Regions from separate parts of the Homo sapiens genome. Here all the other regions are linked to region 4. Evidence: promoter capture Hi-C in human tissues and cell types (Jung and others, 2019). All regions are on one chromosome and are shown on one strand. The core of a region is centred on a gene start or on the middle of the fragment in contact, and the rest is flanking DNA. Distances in the headings are between cores, read along the strand shown. Region 1 holds the start of PLA2G12B (phospholipase A2 group XIIB). Region 2 overlaps P4HA1 (prolyl 4-hydroxylase subunit alpha 1). Region 3 overlaps ECD (ecdysoneless cell cycle regulator). Region 4 holds the start of DNAJB12 (DnaJ heat shock protein family (Hsp40) member B12). Region 5 holds the start of P4HA1 (prolyl 4-hydroxylase subunit alpha 1).

Region 1 (2,700 bases), core at 130-2,629, 600 kb before region 4:
AAAGTGGTTTGAAAAAGTATAGATGCTTTAAAATATTGGGTGGCATTGTTGTGACTATGAATAATTTTTAACCACTGCCCTTCCTGGAGTCTGAGTCTTCAGCCAAACACATTTACTGAAAATGAAGAAATTAATTCATTTAATTCATTATTTTCCATGGGGCTTTCCAGACAAACATTTGAGAAAGGAGCTAAATGATTCATGTGGTCCATAAAGGTATCATTTTTATAGACTGGTGATTATTTTATTATTACTATTTTTTTGAGACAGAGTTTCGCTCTTGTCGCCCATGCTGGAGTGCAATGGCGTGCTCTCGGCTCACTGCAACCTCCGCCTCCTGGGTTCAAGTGATTCTCCTGCCTTAGCCTTCCTAGTAGCTGGGATTACAGGCGGCTGCTACCTTGCCTGGCTAATTTTTGTATTTTTAGTGGAGACGGGGTTTCGCTATGTTGGTCAGGCTGGCCTCAAACTCCTGACCTCAGGTGATCCAAACGCCTCGGCCTCCCAAAATGCTGGGATTACAGGCATGCACCACCATGCCCGGTCCTAGACTAGTGATTTTATAGATGGCATTTCTTCACACGACTAAAAGCAGTCTAAACTGAAAACGATGCCAAAACACTAGACTTCAGTCAACAGTCTTAAAAGCCTACACTCCCAAATAGACTATTTGATAAACCCTCTGACTTCTAAGAAACTCAAAGGAAAAACACCACCAGGAGAGCCGAGTGCCCCCAGAATTGTCCTTGGACCATCTGTAGATCTTGTCTTATGATCCACTTATGCTGAGTGTAAACAGAGATACTGCTGTAAATAGAAGCCAAAATGTCCCTGCACTCAGATGGCTACATCTGGGAGCTCTGCCAAATTAGAGGATTTATGCGTCAGAGCCAGGTGGGTTCCACAGCAGAAGCTGGGGTCTCAAATCTGAACTTCTGCTTAACACACACTTGGTACCTACTCTGACACTATCGTGACCCTTGGTAAAGTGACTATTAATTCCTACCGCTGGGGCTTTCCTGGGCCCTGTACACATCCTCCTGACTCTCCTTGGAGACTATGTAGGTAGCTGGCTGAGGGGTGTGGCTAGGACCTTCGGTCAAGCTCTTCTATCAAGAGGCTGGCCCTGAAGAGCCACACTTGTAACTGATCAACAGCTTAACAAGCTGGTCGGGGTAGAACTCCGAATCCTTCACCGTTCCTGCGTCTCAGAAGCTGGCTAACATCTCCCTCCCTCCAGGGTGGTAGAATCCACTTTGAAATGTTCTCTCTCCCTGGCCCTCCCACTCCCTAACCTTTGCCCTCTTTCTAATTGCCCTGATCTCATCCCAACCTCCATAGCTATGTTTAAAGTCCACCTCTGGGGAACAGACAGATTGAATGTTCCAGATAATCCCTTTCCCAGTCCTGCCTGACATCTGGGTAGGGGGTTTGTCCCTGGAATTCTGGGACACTGGCTGGGGTTTGAGGAGAGAAGCCAGTACCTACCTGGCTGCAGGATGAAGCTGGCCAGTGGCTTCTTGGTTTTGTGGCTCAGCCTTGGGGGTGGCCTGGCTCAGAGCGACACGAGCCCTGACACGGAGGAGTCCTATTCAGACTGGGGCCTTCGGCACCTCCGGGGAAGCTTTGAATCCGTCAATAGCTACTTCGATTCTTTTCTGGAGCTGCTGGGAGGGAAGAATGGAGTCTGTCAGTACAGGTGCCGATATGGTGAGTGTGCGGTTTCTCTTTCTGTAAAAACTGTTGCTGGTGGACCCATGGACAGCCCCAGAGAGGTCACGATCTGTCTTGCACTTTTTCCTGTTATCCACTTAGAGCTGCCAGATTTAGCAGATAAAAATGTAGGACACCCAGTGAAATGTGAAATCCAAATAAACAACAAATAAGTCATTAGTATAAGTATGTCCAGTGAAATATCTGGGACATACTTATCCTGACAAATTCTTCGTTGTTTATCTCAAACTCACATTTCACTGAGCTTCCTGTATTGTATCTGGGAAACCTTCCCTGGGCCATTTTAATGAGTTTGTTGTGAGGCAGTTCTTAGGAAAAAAGGGTACCTGGGGTGGGAAGAAGGAGGGTGGGTATGAGAGGCCTCTGTGAGGAGTTCCCAGGGATGAAAACTGAAGCCGAACATTCAGAGAAAAATCTGCCATGGGGCAAAACCACCTCCTCAGCTGCTCTGTGCTCAGCTTGGAAACAAATTCTCCCTTCCCCCTGCTGCAGTTCACACCGTCCTCCCAGCTCTCAGTCCCTGACTGGCATCAATTTGCTGGACTTTCTCAAGGGAGCTGTCCCTGCCTGCAGCCTCGGCAACGACAGGCATGCTGTGGAGAGGAAGGGTTCGTGGCTCACCAGGGATCCCGGGGCTGTCCCCTGGACTTGGCGCCAGATGCAGATTTGTGAGCTGGCAGGAGCACTTCCCCTACCTTGCCTGAATATGGCTGGGGGTACACAGATATAAGGTGCACACCTGGCTGCCGGCACAGAGCCCCTGGTCCCAGGGGCCCTGGAAGTTAATGTAAGGGGAGCAAAATGTGGAGCCCCAGGCCTTGAAGCTGGGTGGCATCGTGTAATTGCCAATGCGCATGAAAACGTTTTCCAAAGCATGCACAGTCTCAGGTCTCAGGTAGCATTAGTTTTATGGTTTAATTTATCAACTATCTCATCAAGGGATTAGAAATGAAAATGGTGAGTCAA
Region 2 (2,700 bases), core at 16-2,515, 680 kb before region 4:
TTGATGAAAAAGTTCTGGAAATGGATAGTGCTGATGGTTGTAAGGTATTGTAAATGTACTTAACACCAGTGAATTGTACACTTAATTAAAATGGTAAAATTGCTGTTATATATATTTTACCATAATTTAAAAAATAGTCTAAATGGCTAATTTTATGTTACATGTATTTTACCACAAATTTTTATTTTTTTAGAGATAGGTTCTCATTCTGGGGCCCAGGCTGGAGTGCAGTGGTGTGATTGTAGCTCCCTGCATCCTTGAACTCCTGGGCTTAAGTAATCCTTCCGCTTCAGCCTTATGAGTAGCTAGGACTACACAGGCACACGCTACCATGCCTGGCTAATTTTTAAACTTTTTTTGTGGAGACAGGGTCTTGCTAGGTTGCCGAGACTGGTCTTGAACTCAAGTGATTTTCCTGCCTTGGCTTCCCAAAGTGCTGGGATTACAGATTTGAGACACTGTGCCCATCCTGTTTAACTTTCCTGATGTTATTCTTTGAAGCATAAAAGGTTTTTATTTGGATAATGTCCCATTTATTTATTCCTTTTGTTGCCTGTACTTTTGATGTCATAGCTAAACCATTGCTTCGTCCAACGTCACAAAGATTTGCTCCTGTGTTTTCTTCCCACAGTTTTTATAATTTTAGCTTTTACATTTAGGTCTTTGATCCATCTTGAGTAATTCGTTTTAATATAATGTGAAGCAGAGGTCCAGCTTCTTTCTTTGCATGTAGATAACCAGTGTCCCATGACCATTTGTGGAATGTAACAAGCATTTCTTACTTTTGCAGTTTTAAAGGAGTAAAGTGAAAGACTGGAGTGGTAATTTGCTAGAATGGCTAAAGTGAAGGTATTTTTCTTGGTAGCAGGAGACTTCAATAAGCAAGCATTGACAAGGAGGAGATTAAAGATAAAAGGGAGGCAATAACTGCTGGAGTAAGGCATCTAGAGTTAGAAAGCATAGAATCAAAAGCATAGATAGAAAGTCTGCCTCTATAAGGCTGAAGGACGATGATTCTACCAAAGTACAAGAGGAAAAGATAAGACTAGATATTTAAAAGTTGTTGGTAGCAGGGAGGGAAGTTGAAGATATCAGAAGACACGTTCTCTGTGGGTGATAGGTTCCAGGATGGAATAGGAACAGTTTGTTCATGAGGCATTTAGTTCGAAGCTTTATTAGAATGCTTTCCAATTTAGCATTGCAATTACCTGTAAAAATCAAGTCAGTAGTTGGTTGGTTGCTTATAAAGTTCAGACATCCATCAAATTGTGCTAGGCAGGAAAGACAGGTACATTGACATATACCAGATTAGTTCTACCAGGAACTTGGGCAGAATTAGAAGAAAAAAATTCTTAATATACTTAATCAGCTATATTCTTTACAACAATAACACTTTGATTCTTCCCATTTTTGCTACACTGAGGAATTCTGTAATACTCAGCCAGTCCCAAAAAATTTGCAAGATATCACCAAGCAAATAATTTTAGTAATATAGGATAAATCTAAGAATCCACCCTGTTTGTCATGTTAGTTTCATGTTGGTAATGATTAGTAAAAACTTCTTTCTTCTCCATGTCTTTCTCTTGTTAAAGAAAAACCCACACACTCTCTCTTGCTCTCTCTCTTACGCTTGCTCGCTTCCTTTGTCTGTCTGTGGAAGCTTTGGCTTCGTCTGGCAGCGGGAGAGGTAAAGGAAAGCTTCTCTAAAGAAGTGGTAACTAAGGTGATATCCAGAGTCTTAATTTTGCAAAGTGAAAAAGAATATTCTGGGCAGAGAGAAGAGCATACGCACTAGCCTTAGGCCTAGAGGAAATACGTTCTTGAGGAAATGTTGCTGCTGTCCTGAGAGGGAGGCAGAATATAGTGTTGGAGGCTGTAAATTAGGAGACCAAGAAAAAGCAGCCTGAGATACTAGAGGAATTCCTGGAGAATGAGTGTTTGAGAGAGTTTCCAAAAGGATGAGTATTGTCACAAATGTTACCAAAGGAACAAATACAATGAGAATTGAAAAATGTCATTAGATTTAGAAGCACAATAGGGCTGTGGGTAAGATTAGCAAGAGCAATTTTGAGGGAGTGATATAAGTGACTAAAGCTAGATTACAGTGGGTTCAGAGATTAGGAATCTGACAAAGTTAGCTTGAAGAGGGAAAAGAAAGATTGGTAACTGGAGGGATGTACAGATTTGGGGAAATCATTTTTAATTGTAAAGGCGTTTATTTGCTCTATGAAGTAGGAAATACATTATCTACTGAGTGAAGGGAGAGGCTGAAGTGAGTTAGGGTACAGAGTGGAAGAGGAAGTAAAGTGAAGAGCCCATTTGAAGTTGGTATTCATGAATTTTTAGTGGAACATATCTGCCCTATTTCATGACTTTCTCCAGTAGGGTTTGGTGACAGAGATATACGCTTAGATAAAAGAGATTGATCCAGGATTGTTTTTGCCAGACAGTTGAGTTTAGGCGTTTAGAAAGAATGTTAAAATGATGAACTATGGAATCAAAGCTCAGTGAGAGGAGAAGTGAAGAAAGCGAAGGACTGATTGACTGCTTAAAAGCATATGTGAAAAAGGGATATAGCTGAATTTGGGAGTACCATTTAAAATTGAGATATAGTTCCCGTATCATAAAATTCACGCTTTTAAAGTATGCATTTCAGTGGTTTTTAGCCTTGTGCAACTATAACCAATGTCTAGTTCCAGA
Region 3 (2,803 bases), core at 38-2,537, 780 kb before region 4:
TTTGGTATTCTCTCTTTAAGAAAGCAGGGATAAGGGAAGATATGTTCTTGTTTATTTTTTAAGCTTTAGTTCTTAAAAGAACAGGCTTTATTTAAATTAACTCAAATAAATAATGGTTTTGCTAATGCTAGATATCTTATTGGGGCTAGAGAGTGGGTAGGTCCCTAAATCAGCATAAGCTAAATGTACATAAACAAGATGCAATTTTTACTTTTCATTTATCAGACTTTCCCATTTCTGTTGTCCTGCAAGGCCAGTAAACTCAAGGATTTTTAAAACTTAAACTACAACTTTTCTTGCTGTGCCTCCTTAGAAATTCTATCTTTGGTAGCTTTCCTAAGAATGGCACCACTTTAGAAAAGTTTCAAAGAGTTGTATTTAGAATAAATTAATTGTCTTTGTCCTTTAATATTGCAGAGAACCTTCTGAGGCTCCAATCACTTTTGATGCAGATTCTTTTCTTAATTATTTTGATAAGATTTTAGGTAAGTAGTGGTGTGATGTTGACTTTCATTTTGAAACTGTTAGTAGTATGGCTGTTGCTAGAGCATTGGTTTATGAGATATCTCAGAAGCCAAAATGTTTGCTTTCTCTTCCTGGTTTGAGTTGCTTTCAACCATGAATTACTACCCATGAATAATTTTGTAGAGGCTGCCTAGCTTAGTGTTTGACATATATAGTAGCTGCTCATTAATTTTTTTTTTTTTTTTTTGAGACAGTGTCTCGCTCTGTTGCCCAGGCTGGAGTGCAGTGGCACGATCTCGGCTCACTGCAAGCTCCGCCTCCTGGGTTCATGCCATTCTTCTGCCTCAGCCTCCTGAGTAACTGGGACTACAGGCGCCTGCCACCACACCCAGCTAATTTTTTTGTATTTTTAGTAGAGACGGGGTTTCACCGTGTTAGCCAGGATGGTCTCGATCTCCTGACCTCATGATCCGCCCATCTCAGCCTACCAAAGTGCTGGGATTACAGGCGTGAGCCACCGTGCCCGGCCTCATTAAATATTTGAGAGTGACTGAATGCTGTGTGTTTAAATAGGGTTTTACCTTGGCTCCCATATTATATTGTTCTTTTTTGGAATTACTGTACTTACAAATCAGTAATAAAAAGATAACTCAAAAAATAATTATAATATGTATATATGTACAGAACTGCAGAGAGAAAGATTGGGATACCCGGAAACTGCTAAAAGATGCTTACCTCTGGGGAGAGAGTGAGATTGGAGACAATACTTGTATGGCTTGAATGTTTACATCAAAATGTATTCATTTATTAGGTATTTTTAAAAATTTTTTAAGAAAAATATTTTAATTAATTGAATTCACTTTTTTTTAAGCTAAATCTTTTGATTCAGCTTGTACGCTTTTCCACAACATTAAATGCACACATATCTGCCAGCATTACCATTTGTAGAAGGGATTTTTGTGAAGTAGACTGACTGTGTGTATTAGTCTTTTTCTGTGGGTAACATTCTAATTATTTTGAGATGTGTAGTAACTAAATAATAATAATAATAATAATAATAATAATAATTACTAAGTGGCTCTTTCTTTCTTGGGATCTGTGTAGGGCCAAGGCCTAATGAGTCAGATTCTGATGATCTGGATGATGAAGACTTTGAATGTTTAGATAGTGATGATGACTTGGACTTTGAAACACACGAACCTGGCGAAGAGGCTTCCCTGAAAGGAACACTTGATAATCTCAAGTCATACATGGCCCAGATGGACCAGGAACTAGCACACACCTGCATCAGCAAAAGTTTCACCACTAGGAACCAAGTGGTATGTGTGTTTTTAACCTCTTTCTCTTTCTGAGTCTAGTATGTCAGATAGCTAAAACCATATTTTATCATAGTTTTTCTTTTTTTGGTGTGTGAGATTTGAAATAAATAAGAATGTTAATTGTTTTCCTAACTCTGGTAGGATAAAGGATCATAGACTTAATTTTCCAAAACATAAGCTTCATTATATTACTTATTCTACGTTATCTATCAGGATTTAAAATAAAAAGTCATATAATATGCTCAAATTAGAATGCGATTGTACACTACTACTTCTTAAATACATTTTTTTTCAAAAGTAGTTTAAAAAAACTACAGCTTAAATGGATTTTAAAAAAGAGAGGGCACATGTTCTCAAGACCTTTTGAGACTATGCCTTGGGCCACAGTGGATTAAAACAAAATAACATAAGTAAATAAACAGGATCTTAAACATTCAAATAACTTTCCAGTTTTAACAGTTTATTTTGTATTTTTCCCTAATTTAGAGCCAAATTTAGGATTCACCTTCCGTTTATGTTTTCATCCTAGTTTTTAATGCCACCACTGTCTAATCCTAAACAGAGGTATTATGGAAAGAGCAAGAACCCTGGAGTCTTATGGGTTAGGGTTTGAAGTCTAGCTCAGCTGTCCACTGTGAATGTATCTATAAACCAGTAATCCTCATATCATAAAATTAACATGAGAACCAAATTAGACAGCAGTAAAACCTACAATAGGCCTTTAATTAATGTTAATTCTCCTTGCTTTGATCATCTAAACCACTTTTAAAACTATAGTCACTTCCAGAATTGTCAAAATCTAGTAGAAACCATACATTAGATTTATCTAAAGCAGTATTTCTTAAATTTTAATGCGAATATAAACCAAAAGATCATGTTACAACATAGATTCTGATTAAGTAGGCCTGGGATGAAGCTTGAGATTTTCCTTTTTTTTATTATTATTTTGTTTTATTTTATTATTATTATTATTATTTTATTTGAGATGGAAGTCTCCCTCTGTCACCCAGGCTGGAGTA
Region 4 (2,700 bases), core at 170-2,669:
TGTCTTCAAAATATATCCAGAATTTTACTACTACTCACCACCTCCGCCATCACCCTTATCCAAGTTACCATTAATTTTCACCTGTATTATAATAGTAGCTTCCTGACTCTCATCCGGATTACTGTAGTAGCATCTTACCAAATCCTGCCTGAAAGGCCAAGCAATGTAAGGGCTGACAGATGACTCGGGGATTCGGCAACGTGGAGGTCACTGGCAACCTTCACAAGATTGCTTTCACTGGAGTGATAGCCCTCGAAGAACGGGATAATGATAGAACTGGATTACACTCTGTAGTAGAATCTTTTTTTTTTCTTCTTTTTTTTTAGATGGCGTTTCACTCTTGTTGCCCAGGCTGGAGTGCAATGGTGTGATCTTGGCTCACCGCAACCTCCACCTCCCAGGTTCAAGCGATTCTCCCGCCTCAGCCTCCCGAGTAGGTGGGATTACAGGCCATGTGCCACCATGCCCGGCTAATTTTGTATTTTTAGTAGAGACGGGGTTTCTCCATGTTGGTCAGGCTGGTCTCGAACTCCTGACCTCAAGTGATCCGCCCGCCTCGGCCTCTCAAAGTGCTGGGATTACAGGCGTGAGCCACCGCGCCCAGCCTGTAGTAGAATCTTTACGCTCCCTAGAATGTATTCGCCTTCCTGATCTGTTATAACTCACCAAGAGAATTCCCTTTTCAGAGCCTTTGCACTTGCTGTTCCTTCGGCCTGACCACCCTTCCTCCAGACAGTCACATCTACCTGTTATCGTTCCTGAATTCTGGTACCTGTTAATGACAGCTTCTGAGAGGTTTCTTTTATCGCGCTATTTAAAATAGCGCCTCCCACTCTCTATCCCTGTGTTTTCCATAATTTTTCTTCAGAGCTTTTATCACTATCTGAATCTATCTGGAGCTCCCCCAGCCTACACACACTGGAATGTAAGCTCCATGAGAGCAGGAGCTTTGTTTTGCTCACCCCTGTATCCCCATCATAAAACCATGCCTCACAAACAGTGGGCACTCAATATCTGTTCAGTGAATAAATAACCTTTGTCTGAAACGTATGTAGTTACATTACGTATATAGATCACCACTTAGTAAACCGTCTGGGAATAACAGGCACTCCGAAGGCCCCAGTCTCATCCCGACGGCTACCACGTGACCTTCCTGAGCTTGGGTTTCCTCCTCCGGAAGATTAGAGGGTTGGCGCATACTCAACTCTAAGACCTCCGGAACATGGAATCTGGGCGTGCACCATTATTGACACCTACACCAGCCGTCCCTTTCTTAGAAGACATACGGTAGCACTTCCACCCTCGCTCAAAACTCGGGAAAGGAGGGGCGGAGGGTGGATGTCATCACTCCGCGCCCGGCTGCCCGCGACGCGCCGGCGGGTGGCGCAGCCCTTCGCTCGCCCGGCCTCCCCCTCCCTGGTTCCGCGTTCTGGTTCCGCCATGGAATCCAACAAGGATGAAGCTGAGCGCTGTATCAGCATCGCCCTCAAGGCCATCCAGAGCAACCAGCCCGACCGGGCGCTCCGCTTCCTGGAGAAGGCACAGCGGCTGTATCCGACGCCGCGAGTTCGCGGTGAGTGTGAGGTGCCGGAGAGACTGGGGACATTAGAACTGATGGGGGGAACACGGGAACGGACCGACGGGAGCAGTTGGGGGAGGGGGAGGGGTGGCGAGGCGCGGCTACGCCTGCGCACTGAGGCGCGCGGTGGCTGCTGGGAGGCGTAGTTTTTCCCTCTTGTTCCTCTGCGGGATGCGAGCCGTCTGGAGACTCGGGCGGCCGGGACTTCAGCTTTCGGGGTGCTGGCGGAGCCCGCTGGGGTTTGAGGTCTCCGAGAATGAAACGCGCTGGCAGCCGGGACGAAGGGAACTTACCTGGAAGTGAACTCGAACTACTTTTCCCAAGGGGCCGTTCGGTAGCCCAGGCCAGTCGCCGGCCTGGGAAATATTACAGTTCAGGAAAATAAACATAACTCCTTTAAGGGAGAGAATGGGCGCTAGACAGGGAGACATTTCTGTTCTTCGGGCGCCAGGGAAAGGCGCTTCCGTATCTTCACTCCCTCTCACCTCTCGGGCTGAGGGTCAGGGACCACTCTCCCAAAATGCAAGCCGGCCTTTGCACCCACCCCAGTCCGCCGCCTCGGACTGTCCTGAAGCCGGGCCCCTCACTCCTCCCGATGATGAGATTCGGAGCGGGTGGCCTGGTGGGAGGTGCTGACCTCAGCCACCGCCAGTCCTCCATCGCCCGCAAGAGTCCAGCGGCGGTCAGCCATGTGGACGCCGAGGCTGCTGAGTTGCCCTGGACAGGAGCCTCCTGAGCCAGGGAGGGAAGAGTGAAGCTGGCTTTACAACTCATCACCTCGCTTCACCCGGGAACCCTTTCTTTTTTCTTTAACCTAAGTTTTCCAAGGAGTTTTTCTTAATCCACGCTAGAGGGGAGAGAGACACCGGGTGGTGCTTGTGATCACCACTCAGTAAACCGTCTGGGAATAACAGGCACTCCGAAGGGCCCAGTCTCATCCTGACGGCTACCACGTGACCTTCCTGAGCTTGGGTTTCCTCCTCGGGAAGATTAGAGGGTTGGCGCAGATAATGTGATTGGCAATAATACCCATAGGGCTTTGCAGTTTAGGAAGCTCCTTCACCTGTGCCTTCTCACTTGAGCCTGCCAGTCAGGGATGCAGAGCAAAGATCATTATCTTT
Region 5 (2,700 bases), core at 185-2,684, 740 kb before region 4:
ACTTCATTTGGCCTAATAACATATTTTTAATGAAAAATAACTATTTTCCAAAGCAAAATAATTTAGTGAGAAGAGTGGCATTATTTTACATTTCTGCAAATCTCTTCAGTGTCTGGGCTAATAGAAGATTCTCATATCTGTGTCTGCGTTCCATCTGTATCACAGGCATGTAGTCTCTGGAAGACCTCACTGTATTGTTATTAGAGTGAAAAAGGCAGTAAGTCTTAGTATGAAAATAAAGTCTTAGTATGAAAATAATTTTGACCTTATGGATTCCCTGACTACGCTTTCAGAACCATTGATTTAGACATCATTATATCTACTTTTTAGTTGCCTAGTGCTCCCAGAGTACCCTCTCTCTCTTTCTGTAGCTATATAATCACTCACCTCCTGCGTAAGTCAAATGTTAATTATTGCTATACTTTTTAGCATACATGGAAAACTTTAGAAACCACAATTCTTAATGAATAACAAGTCTTAGCAACTCATTTTTCTCTTTAACTGACAAGGAAAAAATTATCTTCTTCATTGTATTCTCCCTCATAGTACAGGGAGATATAAAGAAACCCTTGGTTTGGGGTTACTTTATAACTAAGGCAAATGTTAGACTAAGATCAAACGCAACATTGGGTGCCTTATATAAATTAATGTTACTGGAGAATCTAATATTTACTAAGTCATTTCTGTGTGTGAGGCATGTGTTAAGTGCTTTACATACATTATCTCATTTTATTCTCACAAGAATCTTACAAGATGGGTAGTACCGTCATTTCTATTTTACAGATGAGTAAACGGATACGGAGAGGTTGTTAATGCCTAGTGTTACACACAGGATTGAGGCAGGATTTGAATTGAGATAACCTGACCCTGGAGCTCTTAGTCTATTATCTACTGATAAGGTATAAAGGTAGGAGATAGAGCACGATTAGTATAAAATGAGTGCTGAGATGTGAGAGGAACAAGACAGCTGAGATACCAAGACTGAATCTCTATTATTTTCCACCCTAGAAAAATTCTGCTTTATTTTCTACACTCCCACGTTCCTCTTCTCATTTTTAAGATACTTTATTGCCGGCGGCCTCGTCGCTTAGGCCTGACGCGGACCCTGAAATCAAGGAGGCAAACTGAACAGGAGCGGGGGAAACCCCGTGGTAACCACGGTAACGGTGGCGGGGCGAGAACCCTGCGCAGGCGCGTTACATCCCACTCCCGCTTACCCACACCACGGCGGCCGGTCCCAGCCACTCCTCTCGGCCTCAGACTCCACGGGCCGGCCACGGGTGGGGGCAGCAGGGAGGCACGGGCTTGGCGCCTGCGCAGTCGCCGGGGCGCTGGTGTGATCGAGCTCACGTAGCGAGGGCTGCAGTCGCCTCCTCCCTGGCGCTGCCATCGCGGCCTAGAGGTTATAAAAGGGCTAACGGGCTCCCTCTGCTGCCCAGTCGCGCCGCCAGCGGGCTGAGGGTAGGAAGTAGCCGCTCCGAGTGGAGGCGACTGGGGGCTGAAGAGCGCGCCGCCCTCTCGTCCCACTTTCCAGGTGAGACGCTCCCTCGATCCCGGAGACTGAGGCCACTGGGCAGCCGTGGACCTTCTCGGACGGCTGCGGCGATCCATTCCTTCCCGCTGTGGTGGTACTTCTGGGGCGGGGGTTCCCCAGGTTACCACAGCAGCCTCGGTTCCTTCCCCTCGGGAGACTCGGCCCCTCTCCCTGCGCCACGCGACTCCCGGCGCCCGCGCTCCTTCGTGCCCCCCTTCCCACCTCTGTCCCTAGTGCGCCTCGGACCGCTGGGGCTGCTGCAGCCTCAGTCCCCGCCCTAGGGACCAGGACTTTCTTGAATTTTCCTTCCCGGGGAGGAATCACTCTGTTGCTTTTTTTTTTTTCCAAGTTCCCCTGCACCTGGTCCTCCCTAACGAGGCTAAGGGGAACGCAAGCGCGGGGCGTGGGCTTTTGGCCGCCACAGCCGCAGATGGTTCGCATGTGGCGGTGGAGAGCGGATTTTAAGGCTTGGAGCTGGATCCGCAGCGCGCCAGGCATTTTTGCCCTATCGAAAGTCGCCGGGAGCTGGGGGGACCTCCCCAGAAAGTTCCGGCTGAACTCATCTGTTGCGCGCAGCGGTGCAGCATTAGCTGCCAGACGTAGCCCGGGGCGCCGAGCTTTCTGCTCGTAGCGCCGAGGAAGTAGGCTCTCAGGTCACCTCGTCGTCAGGGAAGCTTCCTTCCCTCTTCTTCCCCATAACTTTTTTTAAAAAGAGACAAGAGCTCTTCTCTCAATCTCTGTCTCTCTGTCTCTCTCTGCCGAGAATTTGCAGCTTTTAAAAGTCCACATCAGTCCAACAAATTCCATGGTTGTGTGAGGATTTTGAGTTGGATTACATGGCTGGCCCCCGGATGTATGTTTCAATGGGGAGGAAGGATGGTATGATAACTGTGAGACTCTTTCTCCTAAATAATCGACTCTGTTACATACAAATTCAATGTTTAGACACTAACATCTTACGCGTTCCGGATAGAGTGAAGACTCTTGGAATTTTGCACTGTTTTCTTTAAGAAAGGGTTGAAGAAGCAGCTAGATCCTCTTTTAGGAATTGATCTAAAAGGCCAAAGAGACTTGCCAATTTCCACTTAACTGTTTCTGGTTTCTCCGAGAGCAGTGGTTCTCGGACTTTCGCTTGGAATGCACTCGGAGGGGATGAAATAGCCACT

The links. Contacts are between HindIII fragments. The study calls those that stand out against the background at their distance.
Region 1: a contact is called between the fragment with the promoter of PLA2G12B here and the fragment with the promoter of DNAJB12 in region 4, in 1 of the 25 tissues and cell types used here (mesendoderm cells).
Region 2: a fragment that was not itself captured here is called in contact with the fragment with the promoter of DNAJB12 in region 4 in 1 of the 25 tissues and cell types used here (aorta).
Region 3: a contact is called between a fragment that was not itself captured here and the fragment with the promoter of DNAJB12 in region 4, in 1 of the 25 tissues and cell types used here (dorsolateral prefrontal cortex).
Region 5: a contact is called between the fragment with the promoter of P4HA1 here and the fragment with the promoter of DNAJB12 in region 4, in 1 of the 25 tissues and cell types used here (dorsolateral prefrontal cortex).

Annotation. Positions count from the first base shown.
Region 1 is chr10:72,953,485-72,956,184 of GRCh38, reverse strand. It overlaps PLA2G12B (phospholipase A2 group XIIB), which reads left to right and starts at 1,379. Exons shown (of 4, transcript NM_032562.5): 1 at 1,379-1,710. The coding sequence starts at 1,500. The HindIII fragment of the contact is 10,065 bases long and covers 1-2,700 here.
Region 2 is chr10:73,031,706-73,034,405 of GRCh38, reverse strand. All of the region lies in intron 9 of P4HA1 (prolyl 4-hydroxylase subunit alpha 1), which reads left to right. Among named protein-coding and RNA genes, the nearest start is that of P4HA1, 64 kb to the left of the region's middle. The HindIII fragment of the contact is 5,362 bases long and covers 1-2,700 here.
Region 3 is chr10:73,135,685-73,138,487 of GRCh38, reverse strand. ECD (ecdysoneless cell cycle regulator) reads left to right here. Exons shown (of 14, transcript NM_007265.3): 12 at 418-485; 13 at 1,570-1,784. Among named protein-coding and RNA genes, the nearest start is that of SNORA11F, 11 kb to the right of the region's middle. The HindIII fragment of the contact is 3,377 bases long and covers 1-2,803 here.
Region 4 is chr10:72,353,638-72,356,337 of GRCh38, reverse strand. It overlaps DNAJB12 (DnaJ heat shock protein family (Hsp40) member B12), which reads left to right and starts at 1,419. Exons shown (of 9, transcript NM_017626.7): 1 at 1,419-1,573. The coding sequence starts at 1,441. RefSeq lists enhancers at 1,193-1,442, 1,833-1,962. The HindIII fragment of the contact is 25,714 bases long and covers 1-2,700 here.
Region 5 is chr10:73,095,600-73,098,299 of GRCh38, reverse strand. It overlaps P4HA1 (prolyl 4-hydroxylase subunit alpha 1), which reads left to right and starts at 1,434. Exons shown (of 15, transcript NM_001017962.3): 1 at 1,434-1,534. RefSeq lists enhancers at 984-1,053, 1,298-2,053 and a silencer at 1,084-1,413. The HindIII fragment of the contact is 7,006 bases long and covers 1-2,700 here.